3 separate regions of the Homo sapiens genome follow, and regions 2 and 3 are each linked to region 1. Evidence: promoter capture Hi-C in human tissues and cell types (Jung and others, 2019). All regions are on one chromosome and are shown on one strand. The core of a region is centred on a gene start or on the middle of the fragment in contact, and the rest is flanking DNA. Distances in the headings are between cores, read along the strand shown.

Region 1 (4,424 bases), core at 1,113-3,612:
TCTACTATTTTTTGTAAACTGACTTAAAACTTGCATGACTTTCTTAGTTAGATTAAATTGATGGGAATGTTGTATGTTCTGTGTTCTCAAAAACATATATATGACTTTTGGAAGAAATCTTAATTTTCAACTGGTCAAATGTTTTCTCAGAAGGAGGAAGAGCCCGAAGGGTCTTGTGATTAAAGCGGTGCTTTGTAACCTAGCATGTCAAAGCCAAAAGAATTCTGTCATTTTGCACTTTCTGAATAGTTTGAGGATTTTTATTCTATTTTCATTTTCAATTTCTTTCCATTTCATAAGCCCCAACTAACATATCTCAACTATTCTCATTAATTAGGATTTAAGATTCCCCTTCCACAGCTCACTCACTGGTTTTAATGTCATGAACCTTGCTTGTTTTCTTTCCAAAGTATCTTTCCTACTTGCTTCACTGCAGTATCCCATTTGTTCTTTATAACATTCTCTCGGTTTTGGCTTCTGGGGACTCCTTGGTGACAATGGAGAACAGAGACTCCATATCACATTTTGAGGTATATGCTGACTTAGCCACTCTTTCCACAAATACTTCTTAAACAGTGTCTACGGGAAGTAATTTTTTTTTTAACCAACCGAACTTTTAAAAAGCCACCTGGAAGTTGGGGACAGCATGACACCCCTTCTTATAATATGTAATAATTAATGTAAAGCACTTGGAGGTCCTTGTTGCTGAGACACACTCTGACAAATGTGCAAACTATCACTATCCTTTGTGCCTTGTTGAGGACCTGTCAAAAAATTCATCTCTAATAAGGGATCGCCATAAAGTGGAGGGGTTTATTTACCAGTTCACTCCTTCACTTTAGTTCACTCATCTGAGTATACTTTGGTTTATTCTCAAGGATGCATGTATAAATGACCCTATTCTCCACGGTTAGCAAACCAAAACCTCTCTAAATTGGGAGAAAGAACTTGAATGTCGTGTGAAAGAAAGGAAAAAAGAGGGCTTGAAAAGGCAAAAAGCAGTGAAAAGCAGTAGTTAAACTGTAACCCCTATCTCTACTCACCAGACCACATCCCAACCGAATCCAGCTGCACCCACCCCGTAGACCTTTGGGGCTCCTGATTGAGAGTGCAGATACAGGGCACATACTCATGCGTGGCTCCCTTCACTACTGGGTGTCAGTCTGGCCTGTGCTCAAGGTGTGGCATCTGGTTGGAGTTTCAATATGTAGGATCCACTACCAGGGTTTTCGTGAGATTAAGAAGGGTAAGGTAACCTACTGGCAAAAGGGGCTGGTATGCCCCAGGGGTTGGTTTGGCACAGCAGGATTAAAACGAAGTCAACCAAGGCTAGAGTCTGGTGTTCTTTAGTCATTCACCTCACCCTCCAGGAGGCCACCGAATGGCTTTATCTGGACAGGGACAGATCCAGGGACACAACTGGGATAACCGGTATTCCTGGTAAGCCTGTCACTGGGGCATTTGGAGGTTAGGTGGGGAAGGGACGCGCGCGTGGGGGCGGGGTGAGAGGGTACAGAGGGAGAAGGAATGATGGTGAAGGGTTTGCTGGGGCTGCAGCATCCTCATTCTGTCTCCAGGACGGATTTGGAGGCCCCAGTTTGGGGATACGGGTAGGTCTGTAACTCGCTGCGGGACTTCACCTTTGCAAGCCTCCGTTTGCTCCTCTCAAGAGGGATGGACTCTGATCTTTGCGCCCCCTTCCTGCCCTTTGATTCTGGTTCTTTGAGGGAAGCCCTGCTATGCAGTCCGGGGAAGGAAAGGCATTCTCTGCTGCAGGCGGGCCGGAATGGGACGGCCAGGAAAGCGGCCTCTGTGGCATGAATTATATTTATTTAGATACCTGTATTAAAAATTATTTTCGTTAAAAAAGGAATCCCCACCCACCAAGCTCGCGCTGGAGCTTTGCACTGCGACCGTCCGGCGGCCGCCCTTTCCCTGAACTGCGGGGTAGCCGGTGCGCAGCGCTTTCTTCCAGCACCTGACGCTTAGTTTCGCGCAGAATCTCCCTACGCCGCCCCGCCGGCTCCACGCGCCTTCCTCCTTTTCCCAGCCCCACGGCCGCCCCCCGAGGTTGCCCTCGCGGCTTCCCGGAGAGCAGGAAAACCCGGGGAGTGGAACGCGTCGAGGCGAAGGTCCCCGCAAGCCGCGCAGGGTGTCTGCGGCCGGTTGGACGCTTGCGCCCGGGGTGGGCGACTCCTCCGGGCAAGGGCGCGGGGACGGCCCGGCGCGCAAGGTTGACGGGAGCTCGTCTCGCGCCGCGGGGACGCCCGGGCGGCCCTGAAGGGGACGGGGCGGCCCCAGTCGGAGGTCGCAGGGAGCTCCGCCCCCGACTCGGTATAAGAGCTGGGCCCGGCCCACGGCGGCGGCGGCGGCGGCGGAGAGAGCTGGCTCAGGGCGTCCGCTAGGCTCGGACGACCTGCTGAGCCTCCCAAACCGCTTCCATAAGGCTTTGCCTTTCCAACTTCAGCTACAGTGTTAGCTAAGTTTGGAAAGAAGGAAAAAAGAAAATCCCTGGGCCCCTTTTCTTTTGTTCTTTGCCAAAGTCGTCGTTGTAGTCTTTTTGCCCAAGGCTGTTGTGTTTTTAGAGGTGCTATCTCCAGTTCCTTGCACTCCTGTTAACAAGCACCTCAGCGAGAGCAGCAGCAGCGATAGCAGCCGCAGAAGAGCCAGCGGGGTCGCCTAGTGTCATGACCAGGGCGGGAGATCACAACCGCCAGAGAGGATGCTGTGGTGAGTGTCGTTGACCGAAAGCATATGGTGGAAACCCAGGTGGGGCTTTGGAGACAAGCAACTCTACACGAGTTCTGGAGGAATGTGGCTCTGCTGTGAACCATAGCTTTGTAAAAAGATCCTTTGACTCATATTTGGTGGACGTTAAGGAAGAAAGGAAATTCAGGGTGTGGGAAAAGGGGTTTGCACACAGGCACGGATGGAGTAGATTGGGCAGTTTGGATTGCCTTGTGTAAAAAAGAAACAAAACAAACAAACCAACCAACCCAAAAAAGAATGCTGAAACAAGAGTTTCTTCACTGTATGTGAAATGTGAAGTTGGGCAGTTATTGACTAGGTCAATAACTGAATTTAGTGAATGGTATTAAGTGAACGAAATACATCGGTTCATAGGTAACTTGATAAAATGTACGTGGTTTGTCCTGCAAAGTAGTTTTTAATAATCATGTTCTAATGAGATCAAATGGATAAGCATTCTGCCCTCAGCTCATTAAGTGACTACCATCGCTTTTTGTCACCCCGCCTGTGTCTTTGCAGGATCCTTGGCCGACTACCTGACCTCTGCAAAATTCCTTCTCTACCTTGGTCATTCTCTCTCTACTTGGGTAAGTGAGAATGCATAGTCTTACAACACAGTTGCGCAATTTTTTATTTCCTTTCGTTCTAGCCAGTTGTATTAAGCCAACTTCCAGTTTTGTCAAGCAGTTAAAGAAATAAATCATCCAAGTACACATGCTTTAATGAAAACGTTATTTACATCGAAGATCTTTCCCCATGAGTGTTAGTTAATGCAACTTAATTATCAGATCATCGTAGTTTATGTAGATAGACAACTATCCAGACAAGATTATCAAGGAAAGGAATATTTGCCTTGTTTTTAAATTTTATGTTGCATTAGTAGCTTTGGTAAATAGACATATCTGCTACAAAAGATGGATGGATGTCTCATATACCTTCTCTTCTTCACATTTTAAAATATTTTGTTTTCTTTTTTTGTTAAAATTTAGTTCCAGCGTGCAGCACCATGAGAATACAATAGAATGGTAGAGTGACTGACTTAAGCTAATAATAACATTCTAAGATTAATTGAAACATAAATGACCCCCAGAACAAATATCTGAGTGACAAAAATTCTGGTCTTTAAAAATGTTATCTATAGTTAGATAAAGTTTGGGGCAGTGGAGGCTATCTTAAAATTAATCATCCAATGAATATCAGCAATGGATTTACAGTTTTCCCTCTGACTTTCTAGGTTGTCCTGGAAAAGACCTAGTGTTTCTGTAGATCTGGGCTCCTAAAACTCTCTCCGAAAAATAATAAACTAGAAGGGTGCTAGATATATGTTCAGTGATGATTAGAATCTTTAACATTAAACAATTATTGTTTAAAAGCAATAAATCTGGCTATATTCTGTCCATGGCTCATATGTATTTAAAAAGAATGGAAAGAATTTTGAGAGTAAATTTTTTGAATGTTATTTTCCTTTTAAATTGGAAACTTATATTGGATCATCCTTAAGACATGGATGGAAACCACTGGAAGAGGAAATCTATACCCAATACCTTTGAGAAATTGTTAAGCTACATTATTGGTTCTCTAAGAAATAGCAGTTTATAGATGACATTTTAGAAAAGCAAGCTCCTATCTTACCAGAGGCTTACACAGGGGTGACTCTGCAAATACATGTAAACAAA
Region 2 (4,424 bases), core at 502-3,001, 38 kb after region 1:
GTGGAAACATTCTTTAGTGGTCAAGTTGCTGAGCGGGTGGTTTCCATGGCAGAAATACTTTACTTTGGGCACACTTTAAGTACATTCAGCATTATGCATTTCTATTTTCAAGACCATTAGAAGATTGTTTTGTGGCCAAAGCTTTTCTTTTCAGACAAAACAACCCAAATTCTGGCTAACATTCACTGGATTTAAAAGATAATTTTATAAAATGTAGTATACATTAATCACTGACCAGATATTGCTAAAATCTAATTTAGGCTCCCTCTTCCCTCAAATTGAAAAAAATAAAAAGCTAGGACTTCAAGTGATCATAATCTGCAGAATCCTCATTTGTGTAGGTGATAACTACAAATGACCTATGAAATAATACTGTCAAAGTAAACTGTCTGAACCCAGGATCATATGGAGCCACATTGGTGATACTTACCTGGGTGATTCTGTCCCTCCTTCTTGCTTGCCTGTGGACACACTTACCTCTCATCCCTGGTTCATTCCAATTTTCTGTCTAATGTCTTTCAGAGGCAAAGATAAAAGCAGAAGGCTTCCATTGGCAAGTTTTTAAACTTCAAATGACTGGCCATTTAGGCTGTTGTTCAAGTCAGTTAAAGGACAGAGGAAGAATGGTGTGACCGCTTGTGATGAAAGGGTACTGAGTGAAGAGGGCAGCCATGAATTGCAAGCTCCAAGTCCATAGTAATCCGTAGCTGGCTCTTCACCCTCAGCATTTGAGAACACAGCGAAAGTAGGAGTGGTACAGAACTGCAGACCCCATTCTACTTCTAACAGAGGCAGAGGCTACTATGCCAATTCTGTCCTGGAAAGTAGACCTTCTGTGGACAGATTTTTTTTTCTATTTTCTAAGAGAGGTCTGAAAGATTTTTTTTTAACCTCAAAACTTCTGCTTTTAAATGGTGGAAACTGTATCAGCCTCCTATTGATGTTGTAACAAGTTACCACAGACAGTGGCTTAAACAATACAAATTTACCATCTTATAGTTCTGGAGGTCAGATGTTTGTCATGGGTGGAAATCAGGGTGTTGGTGGGCTATGCTCCCTTCTGAAGCTCTGCAGATGAATCCATTTCCTTGCCTTCTCTGGTTTTTAGATGCCACCTGCATTTCTTGGCTTGTGGCCTCCACCACTACCTTCAAAGCCAGCAGCATAGCATCTTCGCATCTCTCTGTCTCTGACCCTCTGCTTCCTTGATCACCTCTATTTCTCTCACTCTGATTCTCCTTCATCCTTCTTTCCCTTATATGGACCCTTGCGATTCCATCGGGCCCACCTGATTAATCCAGCATAACCTCCTCACCTCAAGATCCTTAACTTATTCTCATCTGCAAAGTCCCTTCTGCCTTGGAAATAAGCATATTCCCAGGTTCTGGGTTAGGACATGGACTTCTGGAGGGGACTATTATTCTGTCTGCCTCAGAAACTGATTCCCTCTCTCTCTTTCTCTCTTCTTTTTAAATGCAGCCCCAAATAAAACATGTTTGTGGCTACCACTTTGTGATTTCTAGTTACACTCTGGCTATCCCATCCCTAAGAGTGAATGTCTGTCCTTTAGAGATATGTGTATATTGGCTGACAGTCATTCACAGGATAATAGCTGAAGAAAGAGGAATGTCTACAGCTTTCATTAATGGGAAATTCTCAGAGAGGACCCAGACATGACGTTTACCTGGGATGGCACCACTTTGGACTGCCCAGCTGGAGCACCTCTGGAATTTATTCTAGATGGAATGACTCAGGGTTACTAACCCATGAGGGAAGGATGACCACTGAGGTTAGGGGTGAGGGTTTACAAAGGTGGAGGTTTGCATCTAGAGATTACATAAGGAGCAGAGATTACACCAGAAAGGTGCAGACAGGGCAACAGGTTATGAGTTGGGGAGAGTTCACGCAGGAACCACTGCAAGGCCTTCAACTTGCTGGGTGCTTTGCCCCTAGACTATCTCTCTTAGACTAAACTACTGCTTTTTCTGCCCAGTTCCTTTGGTTATCTTGCCAATCAGTAACAACTGATATACCTGTACTGCTTTGTAGGATGACAATGTGGGAAACAAATAGGTTGGGCAGAAAAAAGAAAAAAAAAAAAACCAGCCTTTCCTGTTGCTGGCCCCATGTGAAGGAAAGGCGGCCTCCATCAATGAAGACAATGTTTGCACGTTCTAGATGGTTCCCGGCTGCAGAGTGAGTCATGACGATGCCAGAGTAACTCCCTGGGTTCAGGAAAGATATGAGGGACAAAGCTCATTCCTCAATATACAAGAGGGAGGTGTCTCAGTGCAGAGAGAGGCAGGTGGAAGGACAAGGCTAACCCAGGTTAAAGTCATTTGTGACATTTTACATGCTTGCTGGGATAACTCCACTAATCAGACCACTAACATTTGCTTTTGGCTAACAGTTTGAAAGATTCACATATTGGTTTTTGACAAGATTTCAGTAAAATTCATGGAATTTACTAGAATAAACACTAGTTCCTGTCATATTTTCCACTTCATAAATCAGCAGAATAATTTTTCATTCACACCTAGCTGACCCGTGGTCATAGGTGACCTCTTTTAGGTCATAGTTTCCTCTTAGTTCTCGGAACTTCAACTCTTGCTGCTTTTTCCTAGGGAGGATCTTGGGTACAGATACTACCTGGCACGATGAATGTGGCATTAGCCGTCCTCATAACAACAATCTGATAAATCAGTCCCTTGGCAACTTGTGTGGATCTGGCAAAGAGGTAATGGGAACAAGGACTGGGCAATGTTTTCATCATGATTTATGATCTTCCCAGGACAAAGCTGAAGCGGGTCAGGTCAAGCTGAACCAGAATCATGTCTGACTGGAGTTTTCTTGTCTGTTGGCAAAAAAACACTGCTTTCTATCTGATTCCAACAAGTATTAGACATTTTACTGACAATGCGTGTATGCACACTGCAAACACAATGTGAAGAAAGACATTGTCTTATTCATGGTTGTAACCCCAGCACCTCACTTAGCAGAGGTCAGGTTTGCTCTCAGTAAAGAAATTACATATAAGTGGAGTTGGCTGCGGTCATGCAGCACCTGTGTCACCTCAGGCAAGATACTCAACCTGTTAAAAAGAAAATAACATCTATCTCCCAACAATCTTCTAAGGATTCAGGGAAATCGTGGATGTGAAGGTATTCTGTAGCTCTGAAGTGTCATATAAATGTCTTCAGCAATTATTATATGCAATTTGAGTTAGATTTTACCTTTTCTGTGTACTATTTTCTTTAAGAGAAGACACTGATAATTTCATTGATTAACTAGCCTACGTGCCTTCTAAATGGTTACAATTCTTATCTAAGGGCATCTCAGCTAACTAAGCAGCACAGGGCCCACGTCATTTTTTTTAAAAGTTGTTTTGAAATTTTTTCTTGGAAAAAAGAACAGAACTGAAGTCCACATCCATATCAAACAGCATATGTGACACCCAGCAGGAAAAACTCATAAATATCTGCTGGAGTCAATCGAGGATGGAGATTTGGGGTTGTTTTATACATTAGTGATTTTATGGAAGGACTGATATTATTAATCTCATTAAAGAAGGTATGAGCAAACCTCCTCTTACTAAAACAGAGTTAATTGGTTTGAAGAAACCAAGCTGAGATATTTTGGAGGCAGGAACAGATTCAGTCATTGACCAAGTATCACCCATGCCCAAAGGCACTGATTTACTTGTTGCTGAAAACAACTGGAACACTTCACGCTCCACCTTATTATGAACTAGAACAATGAAGTTTTATGAAACTCCTCCAACTTACCAAGAAGCTGGTGAACCAGTCTGTCTGAGTCATAGACTATCTCTGAGTTTGGCAGAACTTAGGCCATTGCTTCTTAATTTTGGTTTCTTTGTCAATTTTTCATAATTAATTCATGTTCTCCTCAGGCCACAAATCTCTACCTGTTATTAAACTGGTTGTTTGACTGATTTAATTGAGTGATTTGCATTTGCTCTTCTTATCCTTTTGGTCGTTAGGAGGGAGTTAATTTTGTAACAAAGCTTCATTGTTGCCTGGTTGACTCTGGAGTTATCTTCGGCCTGCCTGAAGCACAGTGTGCTGCTGTGAGAGGTACCCCCTTCCTTATGGGACTGTAGATTTATGGGAAACAGTGATTATTGCTGCAGTTTTATCCCCAGCATTAAGGGAAGCTTAGTGGTTAGCAAAGGAAGAACGTGAATTTTGGAGGCCAGAAAAAAATGATCTTAAATACTAGTTTGACATTTTTCTTGAGTGAACATTGTCACATTATTTTACGTATGGATTATAATAGACCCTTGAAATATTTAAGGAACAATCTTGAGGCATGGGAATACTCAAATGCAAGAATACTACCCGAATATTTCTGGAGAGCTACAATAGAGAGGTGAGAATACAAACTCAAGCTGAAATAGGGGTGCT
Region 3 (4,424 bases), core at 722-3,221, 36 kb before region 1:
CAGGACCCTAAGGGACTGTCAACTGGTTCCTGACATCTAAATATTCATAGCTGTCTTGATCCTGTCCTAATAGGGATCTAATTCTTCAGCTTTTCCTTTTCTCTGTGAGCTGTCTCATGACTTCCTATTAATTCCTCTTTTGGCTTTTGTGAGCCAGAGCTGATTTATGTTGGTATACAAAGAACACCAATTGATATATTTGGTGATTATATGTGTTTCATTAAAATGAAACGTCAAATATTCTATTTTTTATTAGATTTAAAAATTAGAATAATAATAATAATAGCTAATAAATAACATTTACTAAGTGCCTGCCACTGTTCTAGGTGATTTACCTGGATTAACCCATTTAATCCTCACAGAAACCTGAAGAAACTGAGGATCAAAGAGGTAAAGTAACTTGATCCAGCTTACACACTATTAAGTCAAGGTGCAGGGATTTGAACCCAGGCAGTCTGGAGCCAAATTACTTCCTTCTCTGCTTTCTTTATTTCTGTTCTGACCTCTCTCAGTCAGTTCCATTGAGTATTCAATCTAATTGAACATAGAGCTGATGGGGGGATGATCACAGTAGACACCGAGATATGTCAGCATTTCCTTCAGTTATCTGCTGATTATGACCTCATTAGGGTGAACTGTCTGAGCGCCAGAATTATTAGGGAGATTTTTACAAACATGCAGATCCCCAGACCTACTCCAGATCTTTTAGGGACAGGATTCAGGAATCTGACCCTGGTGTTGTGTTTGGGACGCACTGCAGCAAATGAAAGAATTCTGAGATTACTTGGGTTCTTTGAGCCTTACCATGATCATCAATTTCTCTGAGCATTGTCTTCCCAATCTGTAGAATGAAGAAACAAGGCCAACTTTGCCCACCTCACAGGTGTTGTGAGGCTGATGCCTGTGAAAACATTTTGGCAAAATGCTTTACTATTATCATTTTCAAGGAAAGGAAATTTAGAATAGGTATTTTTATTCTGCCAGGCAAATGGAGCTTGCAAAGTACAATTGTCACAAACACACAAAATTCTCTCAAATACAGATTGTATGGGATATGTTTGCACAGACTCATTGCCATTGCTGGGCCTGGATCTCAACCTAGTGATAGCAGTCAGTCTTGAGAGTAGTACAGGAAATTCTTTGCTGGCATCCCCATCACAATTCCAAACCTGTACAACAAAGCTTGAAGATATTTTAACAAAGCAAAAACCTTTCATTCCATGATTAAAGATAAGACTCAAAACACATTTCATGAGGGTAACAGGTTTACTCAGACTGACCCAATAGTCACATTGACTGAAGCCTTCTTCCTCAGTCCCCATTTGACAGTAGCTTTGGAAAGCGCTGCTACAAGGAAAACAGCAGAGCTGATGGCAAGCATTTTTATACAGTCTTGTTTATTTCCCTCTGTGTGTGTGTATATATGTTTATATACACACACAGAAATACAAATATATATATGCATATGTATATATACATATCTGCATCTTCTAGAACTCCCATCTTTCCCCTTGCCAATCAAGCCCAAATTCAATGAAATTATTGTATAGAAATAGTTAATAAAATCTGTTAGCTAATAATATTAACAGAATGAGAACCCAGATTTTAGTTACTAACTTTGGAGATATTTCAGCTTTAAAGCTGTGAGGAAAAACATTGAGAGAGTCTTTATGTAGATCTACCTGATTTGAGTACTGTGAGCATCCAGGTAGAGTAATAGGGGATTGAGGCCTAGGAACTTGGAGAGAAAGAGGTCAGGAAAAATGTATCAAATATACAGGGCGGCTGAACCCAACAGCAGGCTAGGACCCAAGGAAAGAGTCTGGAAACACCTCCTGCTGGAGCCTGGGAAGAGAATTTAAGACAATCTAGTGTCCACCTGTCTTCACACTGCCCTGGGACATGAAGAAGGGGCTCTGGCCTCATTTGGGAGCTGCGAAAAAGAGGGAGAAAGATTGACACGGAGTATGGGGATCGAATGGCCAGTGACAACCAAGAACTGGGAGGATAGTTTAATAAAAAGTGGCAAGTGACAATAAAACAGGCAGGACTCGAAGGAGCTCTCAAAAATACCCAGAAGGAGACTCATTTTCTTGTGGGCAAGCAAATGAGGGTTTGAACGATGTTTATTTGGTTGTTAATGAAAAGGACTGCCCAGAAGGCTGGAAAATATAAAGCACTCTGGTTACATTTGTATTAGCTAAAACATTCTATATGTAATTATGAGATGTATTCTCAATGAAACGGAAGTTACATTGTGACTACATACAGCTTTATAGAAGCCTGACATATGGCAACAACTTGTTAAAACCATTCTAACTTCTTTACTTGAAGAAAGAAAACTAACTACTCTCTCTATAATTGGAGTCCTTGTATCTCCTTTGTGCTTCTACATATCCCCTGGAGAATGAGGAAAAGGAGCTCAGAGGGGGAAGAGAACTAATATTTATTGAGCACCTCCTAATTCCCAAGATGCTTTATAGACATTGTCTTCACTTAATCCAGAGCAACCCTCAGAAAGAGTTACTATAAATCCCGTTTTATGGGGCAAGAAATTGGGGCTCAAGGTCAACTCGCCCAAAGTTACATAGTGTTTCTCATGCTTGAGTAAAGAACAGACTCCTTTTATGACTATCACCAAGAATATGTCAAGTCCTTGGTTTAAAACACACTGATTTATGGCATAATTCATGAAAGCATCTTTCAGTTATGAATTATCACTATAAAAGAAAATTTTCATTTATGTAAGAGTAAACAATAATTTTATTTTATTTATTATTATTATTATTTTTGAGATGAGGTCTCTCTCTGTCACTCAGGCTGGAGTGTAGTGATCTTGCAACCTCCACGTCCCAGGCTCAAGTGATCCTCTCACCACAGCTTCCTGAGTAGCTGGGACTACAGGCTCGCACCACCACACCTGGCTACTTTCCTTTTTTTTCTTTGTTAAGAGATGGGGTTTCTTCATGTTGCCCCTGGCTAGTCTTGGACTCCTGGACTTAAGTGACCAGCCAGCTTCAGCCTCCCAAAGTGTTTGGATTACAGGCATGAGCCACCGCGCCCAGCCGTAAACAATAATTTTAAATACCATCATTGAATTGAAAACAGCCACATGCACACACACACACACACCCCAAAATTCAAAATACAAGGATCTGAGAATGTCTTCAGACCCTTAGATGTGAAGAAACCCTTGGGAAACATTATATTTTTACCATGCTCCCATTATTCAGGCATCAATAAGAGGATTGAGCTATGCTGTACAATAATAAGTAGACTGTAAGATCGTTAGAACTCAGTTTTAAGCTTATAATCTGCAACCAGACATGAAAATCCATATTCCTGATTTCTAGTTAGCACACAAACTTCCACATTGTATAGCCAAGTTGTTGCAAAGCTTTGCCAAAATGGGTCAGCCTCAGAACATTAATGTTATGACACCCTTACACAGTGTAAGGCCATTATTTTTGGACCTAGTTTCATCCAGGGTGCTTCCTGCTTCCATAAGCATGTTCAACTGGTTTGAACAGTCATAGACCCTTGCTGGCAGGTTGATCTCTCCCTTCTTTTCCTCCCCCTCACAGATCTGTCTTGCACTAGGCTCAGTGTAAACAAACTAGTTAAAACTGGCTCTCCATATATCCTACGCTTTAGGAGCAATTTCATATAAAGTCGTCCCTCCATGTCCAATGGGGATTGGTTCCAGGACGCTCCTCAACACCCCGATACCTAAATCTACAGATGCTCAAGTTCTTTATATAAAATGGTATTTGCATTTAACCTACACATACCCTTCTATATGCTTTAAAGCATCTCTTGATTACTTAAAATACCTAATACAATGTAAATCCTATGTAAATAGTTATTAAACTGTATTTTTAAAATTTGTATTACTTGCATTGTTATATTGTTATTTTTAAATTTGGGGGGAATATTTTCCACCCGTTGTTAGTTGAATCCTTGCATGCAGAATCCATGGATATGGAGGGCCAACTGTACAAATCCCAGGATAAAACTCACATGATACAAACTTAAGTCTAAGAACAAATGGGCCCCTTTAAACAGGAATTTCCTTTATCCCAGAGACTGTGCAGCCCACTTTACCAAAGATGTGATTTGGCAGTCTCCCAGAACTTCAATATGATCCCTCTTTGCACTGCTAGAGACAGAATAAATATGTATGATAAAAATGCATGTGATAACTAAAATAAATGGAGGTAGCAGAGCCTAATTGCATTTCCAATAGGAAAGAGCTAGTCATGAAACCATAAAGACATGAGTTTTTTTTAATAGCAAAATGGGAATTGTAGTTTACAGCCCCCAAAAGTATGTTTTCAATTGCTTTCTCTGCATTATTAAAGGTTGACTTTCTGACCTAAGGGTCCTTTGCCATCTAAAATGTCTAAACATGCCAGTTTAAATAT

Evidence for each region. The method cuts DNA at HindIII sites, captures the fragments that hold promoters and counts their contacts. A contact is called where the count stands out against the background at its distance.
Region 2: a fragment that was not itself captured here is called in contact with the fragment with the promoter of SLC40A1 in region 1 in 3 of the 25 tissues and cell types used here (IMR-90 fibroblasts, mesenchymal stem cells and psoas muscle).
Region 3: a contact is called between a fragment that was not itself captured here and the fragment with the promoter of SLC40A1 in region 1, in 2 of the 25 tissues and cell types used here (mesenchymal stem cells and spleen).

The regions. Positions count from the first base shown.
Region 1 is chr2:189,578,724-189,583,147 of GRCh38, reverse strand. It overlaps SLC40A1 (solute carrier family 40 member 1), which reads left to right and starts at 2,362. Exons shown (of 8, transcript NM_014585.6): 1 at 2,362-2,730; 2 at 3,268-3,335. The coding sequence starts at 2,688. RefSeq lists silencers at 2,109-2,278, 2,349-2,408. The HindIII fragment of the contact is 17,191 bases long and covers 1-4,424 here.
Region 2 is chr2:189,540,075-189,544,498 of GRCh38, reverse strand. No RefSeq gene overlaps it. Among named protein-coding and RNA genes, the nearest start is that of SLC40A1, 38 kb to the left of the region's middle. The HindIII fragment of the contact is 6,237 bases long and covers 1-4,424 here.
Region 3 is chr2:189,613,925-189,618,348 of GRCh38, reverse strand. No RefSeq gene overlaps it. Among named protein-coding and RNA genes, the nearest start is that of SLC40A1, 35 kb to the right of the region's middle. The HindIII fragment of the contact is 4,571 bases long and covers 1-4,256 here.